Regions from separate parts of the Homo sapiens genome. Here region 1 is linked to region 2. Evidence: promoter capture Hi-C in human tissues and cell types (Jung and others, 2019). All regions are on one chromosome and are shown on one strand. The core of a region is centred on a gene start or on the middle of the fragment in contact, and the rest is flanking DNA. Distances in the headings are between cores, read along the strand shown.

Region 1 (5,515 bases), core at 1-2,500, 40 kb after region 2:
TTCAGCTTACAGAGCACCCTGTATGTGTTTGTCTTAGTTCAGGCCACCATCTCCACCTTACCAGGCATCTAGAACCTTCTCCACACTTTGCCAACAGGGTTCGTTTGCAGAATTGAAATCTTAGTTAAGGTTTGTTGAAGTTTGTTGTTGTTTTTTTTTTTTTTTTACAATTGGCTGTTCCCACCCACATTCCCTTGAGACATAAATAGAAAAAAAAAAAAAAAGAGGTTTCATGAGTAAGACAAGACATTTGAGCTGCATCCACTTGATCCTTGAAAAGGAAATCTAAGAGGTTGTAACTATCACTTTTTCTAGCCTATATAAGGTAGGTCAGTAAGGTAGCAAAAACACATCTGTTGTTTTGCTCCTTCAACTCTTTTTCCTGATTCTTCCTGGGGGGAAACCGAAAACGGTGAGTAACTGGTGGACACATCAGACCCCAGACTCTTTTCTTCACTGCATGCATTCATATTAGGCTCAGGTGCTTAGACTCCTGTTTTCCGGTGGCTCTGACACCTGGAAGGATTTTAATCTCTGGGAGATGGGCTTTTCATCCATCTGCTTCCCACCTTTCAGGACAGGTGCATGCCTTCTTCCACAGAATGTCTGCAAGCAGCCCAAACTGTATCCTTTCCCACGTGGAATTTGCAACATTGCATCTCTCGGGCTGCTGTAGGAAAATGCCAGTGCATGTGTAACATGGTTTACGGCTGCCTATGCAAATGACTGATTATGTCAGTATAATTTTTATAAGAAAACAATTGAATCCTTCTTTGGGTCATTTTTTTTTTCCATTTTTGGCATGTATTCAAAAGAAGGCTCTGAGACAAAAAAGGCTGGGGTGTTTTCCGTATCTGGTTTTAATTTGGATATTCTGTCCCGTCACTTAATACAAAACCATGCTTATCACATTTTAAAAATTCTAGACAGGCCTGGCTCGGTGGCTTGCATCTGTCATCCCAGCACTTTGTGAGGCCAAGGCAGGCAGATCACCTGAGGTCAGGAGCTCAAGACCAGCCTGGCCAACATGGCAAAACCCCGTCTCTACTAAAAACACAAAAATTAGCCAGGCATGGTAGTGCGCACCTGTAATCCCAGCTACTGGGAAGGCTTAGGCAGGAGAATCACTTGAGCCCAGGAGGCGGAGGTTGCGGTGAGCCGAGATCACGCTCTTGCACTCCAGCCTGGGTGACAGAGTGAGACTCCGTCTTAATTTAAAAAAAAAAATAATCTAGACACACATACAGTTTCAGTGGGCCTGGGAAGATGTGTTTCCCCTGGATGTGCACATTCCTGTTTGTGGCTTATCGCCTCTCATTTATTCTGTGTGAGTAGGTAGAAAATGAGCATCACGGACGTGCTCAGTGCTGACGACATTGCAGCAGCGCTCCAGGAATGCCGAGGTAGAGGGGACGTGAGGCGGGGGTGGGATTTCCTCACAGCTTTGCACCTCCAGCGAGTCAACACAAAATCAAAATGTAGGCCAGGCGGCCAGACGCAGTGGCTCACACCTGTAATCCCAGCACTTTGGGAGGCCGAGGCGGGTGGATCACGAGGTCAGGAGTTCGAGACCAGCCTGGCCAAGATGGTGAAACCCCATCTCTACTAAAAATACAAAAAAATTAACCGGGCGTGGTGGTGGGTGCCTGTAATCCCAGCTACTCGGGAGGCTGAGGCAGAGAATTGCTTGAACCCGGGAGGCAGAAGTTGCAGTGAGCTGAGATCATGCCACTGCACTCCAGCCTGGGCAACAGAGCAAGACTCTGTCTACAAAAAAAAAAAAAAAAAGTAGACCAGGCATGGTGGCTCACATCTGTAATCCCAACACTTTTTGGAGGCCAAGGTGAGAGGACTGTTTGAGCCCAGGAGTTTGAGACCAGCCTGGGCAACATAGGAAGACTCCATCTCTACAACATAACAATAAAAATAAAAACTAGCGGGGCATGGTGGCATGTGCCTGTGGTCCCAGCTACTCTGGAAACTAAGGTAGGAGGATCACTGAAGCCCAGGAGGTTGAGGCTGTGGTGAGCTATGATCGCTACACTGCACTCCAGCTTGGACGACAGAGTGAGACTCTGGCTCTAAATAAATAAATAAATAAATAAATAAGAGGTTGGCTGGAAAATTCATGGAATCAGAGAAGAAAACTGCTATTTATTAGATAACTAAAATTATAGAGATCTGGGATCTGAGCACACGATTACACATCTGTAAGACAAAAGAAACCTACTAAACATGAAAGCAAGACATCACTGAAAGGCCAGGTGTCGTGCTCACACCTGTAATCCCAACACTTTGGGAGGCCGAGGCCGGTGCATCACTTGAGGTCAGGAGTTCAAGACCAACCTGGCCAGCATGGCAAAACCCTGTCTCTATTAAAAATACAAAAATGAGCTGGGCATGGGGGTGCACACCTGTAATCTCAGCTACTTGGGAGGCTGAAGCAGGAGAATCAGTTGAACCCGGGAGGCAGAGGTTGCAGTGAGCCGAGATCACGCCACTGCACTCCAGCCTGGTGACAGAGTGAGACTCTGTCTCAAAAAAAAAAAAAAAAAAAAAAAAAAAAAAAAAAGCGCCAAAGGCCATTTAGCCTGTTGAAATCCAGTGATTGCATTTCCCCCTACCAATTAGACCAGGGATGCTGGGGGCTCAGCCACACAGCCTGTAAAGTGGGCCAGGGGGAGGGGGAGGCACAGAAGAGATGAGGAGGGAAAAGGAAAATGGACAAAACCAAGTGGAGGAGGGAAGACTGGGGCGGAGGGGACATGGGATGCCATCACAGAGCCATCAAGTCTTGGCTGTCCCAAAATCTTGGACCAGTTGAGCATCCCCGTAGCTCAGGGATATTGTTGAAGTGTTTTTAATTATCTGTGTTTTTAGTACCTTGGCCCCAACATAGAATGTGATCCAACAAGCGTCAGAATAACCAATTCTCTGTTCTTCAGACCCAGACACTTTTGAACCCCAAAAATTCTTCCAGACATCAGGCCTCTCCAAGATGTCAGCCAATCAGGTGAAGGATGTTTTCCGGTTCATAGACAACGACCAGAGCGGGTACCTGGATGAAGAAGAGCTTAAGTAAGCTTTGTCCTGAGTCTGTCTGGTACCCGGCACTGCTGAGTGGGCCTGGGGTGCAGTGGGGGCCAGGTTGCTCAGTATTTCTTCAATGGCCAGCCTTGGTGTTGGTCATTCGGCCAAGCATCATTAAAGCAAAGGACATGAGTCAGTTGACCGCACATCTACCCATGCAAAGCCCTCAATATGGGCAGAGAAGACTGCAGGTGCAAAGATTCTTTTTTTTTTTTTTTTTTTTGAGACAGGGCCTCACTCTGTTGCCCAGGCTGGAGTGCAGTGGGGTGATCTCAGCTCCCTGCAGCCTCCGCCTTCCAAATTCAAGTGATTCTCATGCCTCAGTCTCCCAAGTGGCTGGGATTACAGGTGCCTGCCACCACATCCAGCTCATTTTCATATTTAGAGTAGAGATGGGGCTTCACTATGTTGCCAGGCTGGTCTCAAACTCCTGACTTCAAGTGATCCTCCTGCCTTGGCCTCCCAAAGTGCTGGGATTACAGGTGTGAGTCACTGTGCCCAGCCACAAAGATTCTTTCATGTAAGGGATTTCCTTTGGCAAATGGACTTTAAAAAACTAAAAACTTGGCTAAGCGCAGTGGCTCACGCCTGTAATTCCAGCTACTCAGAAGACTGAAGCACAAGAATTGCTTGAAGTCAGGAGGCAGAGGTTGCAGTGAGCCCAGATCGTGCAGCTGCACTCCAGCCTGGGTGACAGAGAGAGACTCTGTCTCAAATAAATAAATAAATAAAAATTAAAAACACTAAAAACTTAAAAATGGGCCAGGCACTGTGGCTCACACCTACAATCCCAGCCCTTTGGGAGGCTGAGGTGGGTGGATTGCTTGAGTGAGCCCAGGGGTTCCAGACCAGTCTGGGGAACATGACAAAACCTTGTCTCTACAAAAAAAAATACAAATGTTAGTGGGGCATGGTGGGGTGCACCTGTAGTCCCAGCTACTCAGGAGGTTGAGGCAGGAGGATTGATTGAGCCCAGGAAGTCGAGGCTGCAGTGAGCCATGATGGTATCACTGCATTCCAGCCTGGGTGACAGAGCAAGACCCTGTCTCAAAAACAAACAAACAAACAAAACCTTAAAAATGAAGTGCCCACCATTGGTTTCTACAGCTTAAGGAAACCTTTGCTTGCTAAGACCTTGGTTAATTATTGCCGGTGCTGGAAACAGGTGATATGCTTAGAGGAAAAACAAAAGTGTAAACACAGAGATGCATGATCTTTTTGAAAATCCCCATGGATCTTTATTATCCTGTAGGTTTTTCCTCCAGAAGTTTGAGAGTGGTGCCAGAGAACTGACCGAGTCAGAAACCAAGTCCTTGATGGCTGCGGCGGATAATGATGGAGATGGGAAAATTGGAGCAGAGGGTATGTCCACACGTGTACGTAGCATAAAACACTCTAGCTCAGGAAGCATCCGTGAGGGCTTGGGCTGTGAGATCAAACCAATGTGGCTTAAAATCTCCCTTTCTTAAACTTACCGAGCCTCAGTCTTCTCATCTGTAAAATGGGACTAAAGTAAGGATGCAAATGATGTGTGTAAAAACCCTGGCATAATGCTCGGTAGGTACTATAGAAGCTGGTCACACTGGTCATTGTCTATGAGCTGCAAAATATCCTTCACCTGACTAGGGGACTAGCTAGCCACCTGGCCAATTATTTGCACCTGCCAACCATAATGCACCTGCATAAAGCGCGAGGTATTTCTACCAGTGGGGTTTGAACCCCTCAGAATAAGGGAAAGATTTACATCCTCAGACCAGGGTCCATTGGCATGCGTAGGAAGCCCTCTTCGTCTTCAAGGGTTTAGACAAATATATTTTATTGGACATTAGCCCGCCAAGGGGATAATATTAAACAGAGAACAAATAAGCCAACCTCATTTATTGAGTCTTCCATAGGCCGAATCCTAGGTTTGAGCTTTAGAATACACTAGCACAGCTGTAGGACTATTTTCACTTGATTTTGTCATGTTGCTAGCGTGCTTTTTAACTGCTTTGTGCCTGCCAACTCAGCAGAACATATGATGGTCCTTCTGGTGGTGCTAATTTGAAATTTAAAACTGCTACGTTAGATGCTTATTAAAAAAAAAAAAACCTGTTCAAAATTATACCACTATCGCTTACTACATGGGAGTTAATGCAGATAGATAGCTCATAAAAACAGATTAGGTAAGGGGGGATTGCCTTATTTAAACATAACCAGGGGCTGGGCGTGGTGGCTCAGGCCTATAATCCCAGCAATTTTGGAGGCCAAGGTGGGCAGATCCCCTGAAGTCGGGAGTTCAAGACTAGACTGACCAACATGGTGAACCCCATCTCTATTGAAAATATAAAAAATTAGCCGGTCATGGTGGTGGGCACCTGTAATCCCAACTACTCGGGAAGCTGAGGCAGGAGAATCGCTTGAACCTGGGAGGCAGAGGTTGCAG
Region 2 (5,595 bases), core at 2,712-5,211:
ATGACTCCCTGTTAGGGGAATCTGTACTAAAGATGACAATGACTGGGTTAAATGCTGTCTGTCCAGCACTCCGTGGTCTCTCTGCTTTTCATATGTTATATCATGAATAAACCCATGAGAGGCATATCTATAGAAATTATATATTTACATGGAAATTTTATGTTTATATAGAAATTAGATATGAATAAATTACATAGAAATTAAGACATTATGTAGACATTGTATGTGTATGTATAAAAACTACATAGACTGTCTATATATATACTAGACATGTATGTAAACTACATAGACTATATATATATATATATATATATATATATATATAATGTATATACATATACATACACTACATAGACTCGTGATAGCTCACGCTTGTAATTCCAGAACTTTGGGAGGCTGAGGTAGGCGGACCACCTGAGGTCAGGAGTTCGAGACCAGCCTGGCCACATGGTGAAACCCGTTTCTACTAAAAATACATAAATTAGCTGGGTGTGTGCCTGTAATCTGAGGTACTCAGGTGGCTGAGGCAGGAGAATCACTTGAACCCAGGAGGCGGAGGTTGCAGTGAGCCGATATTGTACATTGCACTCCAGCCTGGGCAACACAGTGAGACCCTATCTCAAAAAAAAAGTCACTGGCTTCAGCAGCCTTTAGCCCTTGGTCATAAGTTTTTCTAGAGATCAGAGTGTGGTCTGGAAGAGAACCCAGGCTCTGTAGGGTGATTGGGGCTCTGGGCTTCTTTGTGGATTGCCTCTCCCCACTCCCACATAGCTCCCGGTCCCTGCTGCTGCCCCCGGGCTGTGCCCTGCTTGTTGCCCCTCCTCTGCACGCGCTTGTCTCACCACTGGGGACAATTTGGGTCGCCCATTTGCCTATGAACATCCGTCATCACCCCAGCAGCATGTGTCCAGGGGGCCCACCACAGCTCTTTATACCCAGCATCCCCCCTTGACCTCTGCCACAGTGATGAAAGCCCCCCGACTCTCACATACTTTTTTTTTTTTTTTTTTTTTTTTTTTTGAGACAGACTCTTGCTCTGTCACCCAGGCTGGAGTGCAGTGGCACGATCTCGGCTCACTGTAAGCTCCGCCTCCTGGGTTCAAGTGTTTCTCCTGCCTCCCGAGTAGCTGGGATTACAGGTGCCTGGCACCATGCCCAGCTAATTTTTTTTTTTTTTGTATGTTTAGTAGAGATGGGGTTTTACCATGTTGGCCAGGCTGGTCTTGAACTCTTGCCCTCAAGTGATCCACCTGCCTCGGCTTCCCAAAGTGCTGGGATTACAGACGTGAGCCACCCTGTCTGATCTCCTTCAAATTATTTAAACTTTGATTAAACAACATAGTGAGACCCCAACTCTACAAAAAATTTAAATAAAACCAGCTGGCCTATGCCTGTAATCCCAGCTACTCGGGAGGCTGAGGCGAGAGGATCACTTAAACCCAGGAGGTAGAGGCTGCAGCGAGCCATGATCACACCACTGCACTCCAGCCTGGACAGAGAGAGACCCTGTCCCAAAAAGAGAAGATCTAAGGCCAGGGGCAGTGGCTCACACCTGTAATCCCAGCACTTTGGGAGGCTGAGACAGGTGGATCACCTGAGGTCAGGAGTTCGAGACCAGCCTGACCAACGTGGAGAAACCCTGTCTCTACTAAAAATACAAAATTAGCCAGGTGTGGTGGCACAAGCCTGTAATCCCAGCTACTCAGGAGGCTGAGGCAAGAGAATTGCTTGAACCCAGCAGGCAGAGGTTGCGGTGAGCCAAGGTGGCACCATTGCACTCCAGCCTGCGTGACAAGAGTGGAACACCCTCTCCAAAATAGAAAATCTCTCTTTCTCTCTATATATATCTCTATATAATATATAAATAGATAATATCTATATGTTATATATATATTTTATATACATCCTCATATTTTCTAATAGGTATAAATTGAAGATGTTTAAATGGGGGTCTTTAATTCATTGAGAGAGGGGATGGGATGGGTGAAGGAGGCCAAGCCCTGTTCTGCATCTGTGGAACCCCTTCTCTGCATTTCTCTTGCTGTTTTAATTTTGAGCACTAGCTTACATTGAGGATTAGAATCATGTGATAATTTAGCTCCTGCTATCCTCCCTTCCGGTGGCTCCCACCTTTTTTCCACATCAGATCATCTGTAGTTCCCCTCCGTAAATACCGTGAGGTGGGAGTCTGCATTTCCTACAGGGAAAAAAAAAATCACTTCTACCCGTGGCTGGTACGCTCTCTCCCTCTCCCACACACGCCTTACACCCGGCATTTTCATTCTCTTTGTAGTTTCTACGAGACTTTTCTGTGCCTCCTTTGCCCATGCCAGGCCTCTTGCTAGGAATATCCTTCAGACATCAGATCATTCTGTTTATCTTTCGTGATTCTACTCCCCTGTGATCTCCTAGGAAGCTTCACTTGACAGTACGTTGGATCTGGCTGCTGTCTTCCTCGTGCCCATTCTGTATGTAACTACATGTCTACCACCGCCTATAGTGTAATCTTACGGTACAGCTGTCTTCCTGTGTTCATCTGGCAGCAACACTCCTAACTACCTTCAGAACAGGAACAATTTTGTGTTCAGCCCTCGACCCCAAGCGCCTGGTAGAACACCAGCAGTGTGCGAGGTCCCTGAAAGACACTTGATCATTGAAGGAATGAATGGAGATCCAGTAGTGAGATTTATTTATTTATTTTTGAGATGGAGTCTCACTCTGTTGTACAGCCTGGGGTGCAAGGGCGGGATCTCAGCTCACTGCAAGCTACGCCTCCTGGGTTGAAGCAATTCTCCTGCCTGAGCCTCCCTGGTAGCTGGGATTACAGGCACCCACCAGCACGTCCATCTAATATATTTTTTGTAGAGATGGGGTTTCACCATGTTGGCCACGCTGGTCTCAAACTCCTAACCTCAAGCAATCCACCTGTCTCAGCCCCTCAAAGTGCTGGGATTACAGGCGTGAGCCACTGCACCCGGTTGATATTTTTTCTAACAATTTTTTTTTTCTCTTCCACAAAGTGTAGTACAAAGTTAGGGGTGTGCTCAGCTTTCTATGTAACCTAATATGGGGAAAGCTGACCTCGGAAGGGGGTAAGATCAATCTCCTCTACGCCTTTGCCATGGTACCCAGTGCCAACCACTCCACATTAATCAGCCATGTGCTGTTCCAGGGGTCACTGTCATTCGGGGACGTGGCTGTGGGCTTCACCCGGAAAGAGTGGCAGCAGCTGGACCTGGAGCAGAGGACCCTGTACCAGGATGTGATGCTGGAGAACTACAGCCACCTGCTCTCTGTGGGTGAGGAAGACTTCCCCGTGGTCCTCGGGTTACATGAACTCTTTTTCTTAGTTGTATAAAACTGGGAAACTGCTCACGCACTGAAAGTGCTAAGCTGGGCATGGTGGCTCATGCCTGTGATCCCAGCACTTCAGGAGGCCGAGGTGGGAGGATTGCTTGAGCCACAGGTGCAAGACCCGATCTATACAAACGAAAAATAAAAAATTAGCCAGGCATGGTGGCATGTGCCTGCAGTCCCAGCTACTTGCGAGTCTCAAATGGAAGGATCCCTTGAGGCCCAAGTTCAAGACTTGCCTGGGCAACATGGCAAAACCCCATCTCTACCAAAACATTAAAAAATTAGTTGAGGGTGGTGATGCCTGCCTGTAGTCCCAGCTACTCGGGAGGCTGAGATGGGAGGATCACTTGAGTGCAGGAGGTTGAGGCTGCAGTGAGCTGTGATTGTGCCACTTCACTCCAGCCTGGGCAACAGAGCAAGACCCTGTGTGAAAAATAAAAGTGCTTGGCCTTGGGTTTCAGTGGTCAGAGTCTCGATCCCACTTGGAGTCCTCGTGAAGTTACCTGCCAAGCGAAACAGCTCTCTGTGGCTGAGATGTCCACCTTTTGTTTTGCAGGCTGAACTGTCTGCTTGCTTGGAAGGCCCAGCTGGCTCAGCACAAATCCTTTAACCGTTTCTCCCCAAGAGGGTGTCAAGTCAGCAAACCAGCTGTGATCTCCAGTTTGGAGCAGGGGAAGGAGCCATGGATGGAGGAGGAAGAGATAAGGACGTGGAGCTTCCCAGGTGAGCAGGTGGCCTGCAGGGGGCCGGGGGATGAGGCTCCTGGAAGTCTGCAAAGCAGAACCCATGGATGTTGTCTTGTTTTGTTTTTTGAGATGGAGTCTCGCTCAGTTGCCCAGGCTGGAGTGCAGTGGTGCGATGTCAGCTCATTGCAACCTCCACCTCCCAGGTTCAAGCCATTCTCCTGCCTCAGCCTCCTGAGTAGCAGGGATTACAGGTGCCCGCCACCATGTGTGACTTATTTTGTATTTTTGGTAGAGACTGGGTTTCACCATGTTGGTCAGGCTGGTTTCAAACTCCTGAACTCAGGTGATCCACCTGCCTTGGCCTCCCAAAGTGCTGGGATTACAGGCGTGACCCATGGCGCCTAGCCGGATGTCCTCTTGTTTCAGGCAACTGTTCTTAAAAGCTTGGGATCTTGGCTGGGCATGGTCGCTCACACCTGTAATCCCAGCACTTTGGGAGGCCAAGGTGGGTGGATCATGAGGTCAGGAGATCAAGACCATCTGGCTAACACGGTGAAACCCCGTCTCTACTAAAAATTAGCTGGGTGTGGTGGCACGCACCTGTAGTTGCAGCTACTCAGGAGGCTGAGGCAGGAGAATCGCTTGAACCTGGGAAGCAGAGGTTGCAGTGAGCCGAGATTGTGCCACTGTGCTCCAGCCTGGGTGACAGAGCGAGACTCATCTCAAAAAAAAAAAAAAAAAAAAACCCTGGATCTTTGCAAGCAGCTGTGGACATTTGGCCTTAAACCTTGAGATGCCTTAGTGATCCTGCCACCTGCACACATCACTACACGATTCCTTTCCTGTCTCTGGATTTTAGAGAAAGGCATAGTCTATTTTTTTCTTTTTTTTTTCTTTTTTTTGTTTTTTTTTTTTTTGAGACAGTCTGGCTGTTGCCCAGGCTCGAGTACAGTGGTACGATCTTGGCTCACTGCAACCTCCGCCTCCCAGGTTGAAGTGATTCTCCTGCTTCAGCCTCCTGAGTAGCTGGGATTACAAGCACGTGCCACCACCATGCTCGGCTAAATTTTTTTTTTTTTTTTTTTTTTTTCAGTAGAGATGGGGTTTTGCTATGTTGGCTGGCCAGGCTGGTCTTGAACTTCTGACCTCAGATGACCCTCCCACCTCTGCCTCCCAAGGTGCTGGGATTACAGGCGTGAGCCACCACGCCTGGCCCTCTTTTTTCTTGTTTTGAGAGACTGTCTTGCTTTTTCACCCAGACTGGAGTGCAGTGGAGTGATGGTAGCTCACTGCAGCCTCCAACTCCTGGGCTCAAGTGATCCTCTTACTTCAGCCTCCTTAGTAGCTGCTACTTCAGGCACATGCCATCACACTGAGCCACTGAGCTCATTTTTTTTTTCATTTTTGTAGAGATGGGGTCTCCCTATGTCGTCCAGGATGGTCTCAAACTCCTAGGCTCAAGCGATCCTCCTGCCTTAGCCTCCCAAGTAGCTGGGACTACAGGCATGAGCCATATGCCTGACCATCTATTTTCATTTGTCCTTTGATTCTG

What was found. Contacts are between HindIII fragments. The study calls those that stand out against the background at their distance.
Region 1: the fragment with the promoter of OCM here is called in contact with a fragment that was not itself captured in region 2 in 1 of the 25 tissues and cell types used here (mesenchymal stem cells).

What each region holds. Positions count from the first base shown.
Region 1 is chr7:5,879,548-5,885,062 of GRCh38, forward strand. OCM (oncomodulin) reads left to right here and starts at 1,251. Exons shown (of 4, transcript NM_001097622.2): 1 at 1,251-1,403; 2 at 2,946-3,078; 3 at 4,343-4,452. The coding sequence starts at 1,343. The HindIII fragment of the contact is 18,194 bases long and covers 1-4,352 here.
Region 2 is chr7:5,836,777-5,842,371 of GRCh38, forward strand. It overlaps the pseudogene ZNF815P. Among named protein-coding and RNA genes, the nearest start is that of OCM, 41 kb to the right of the region's middle. The HindIII fragment of the contact is 6,166 bases long and covers 879-5,595 here.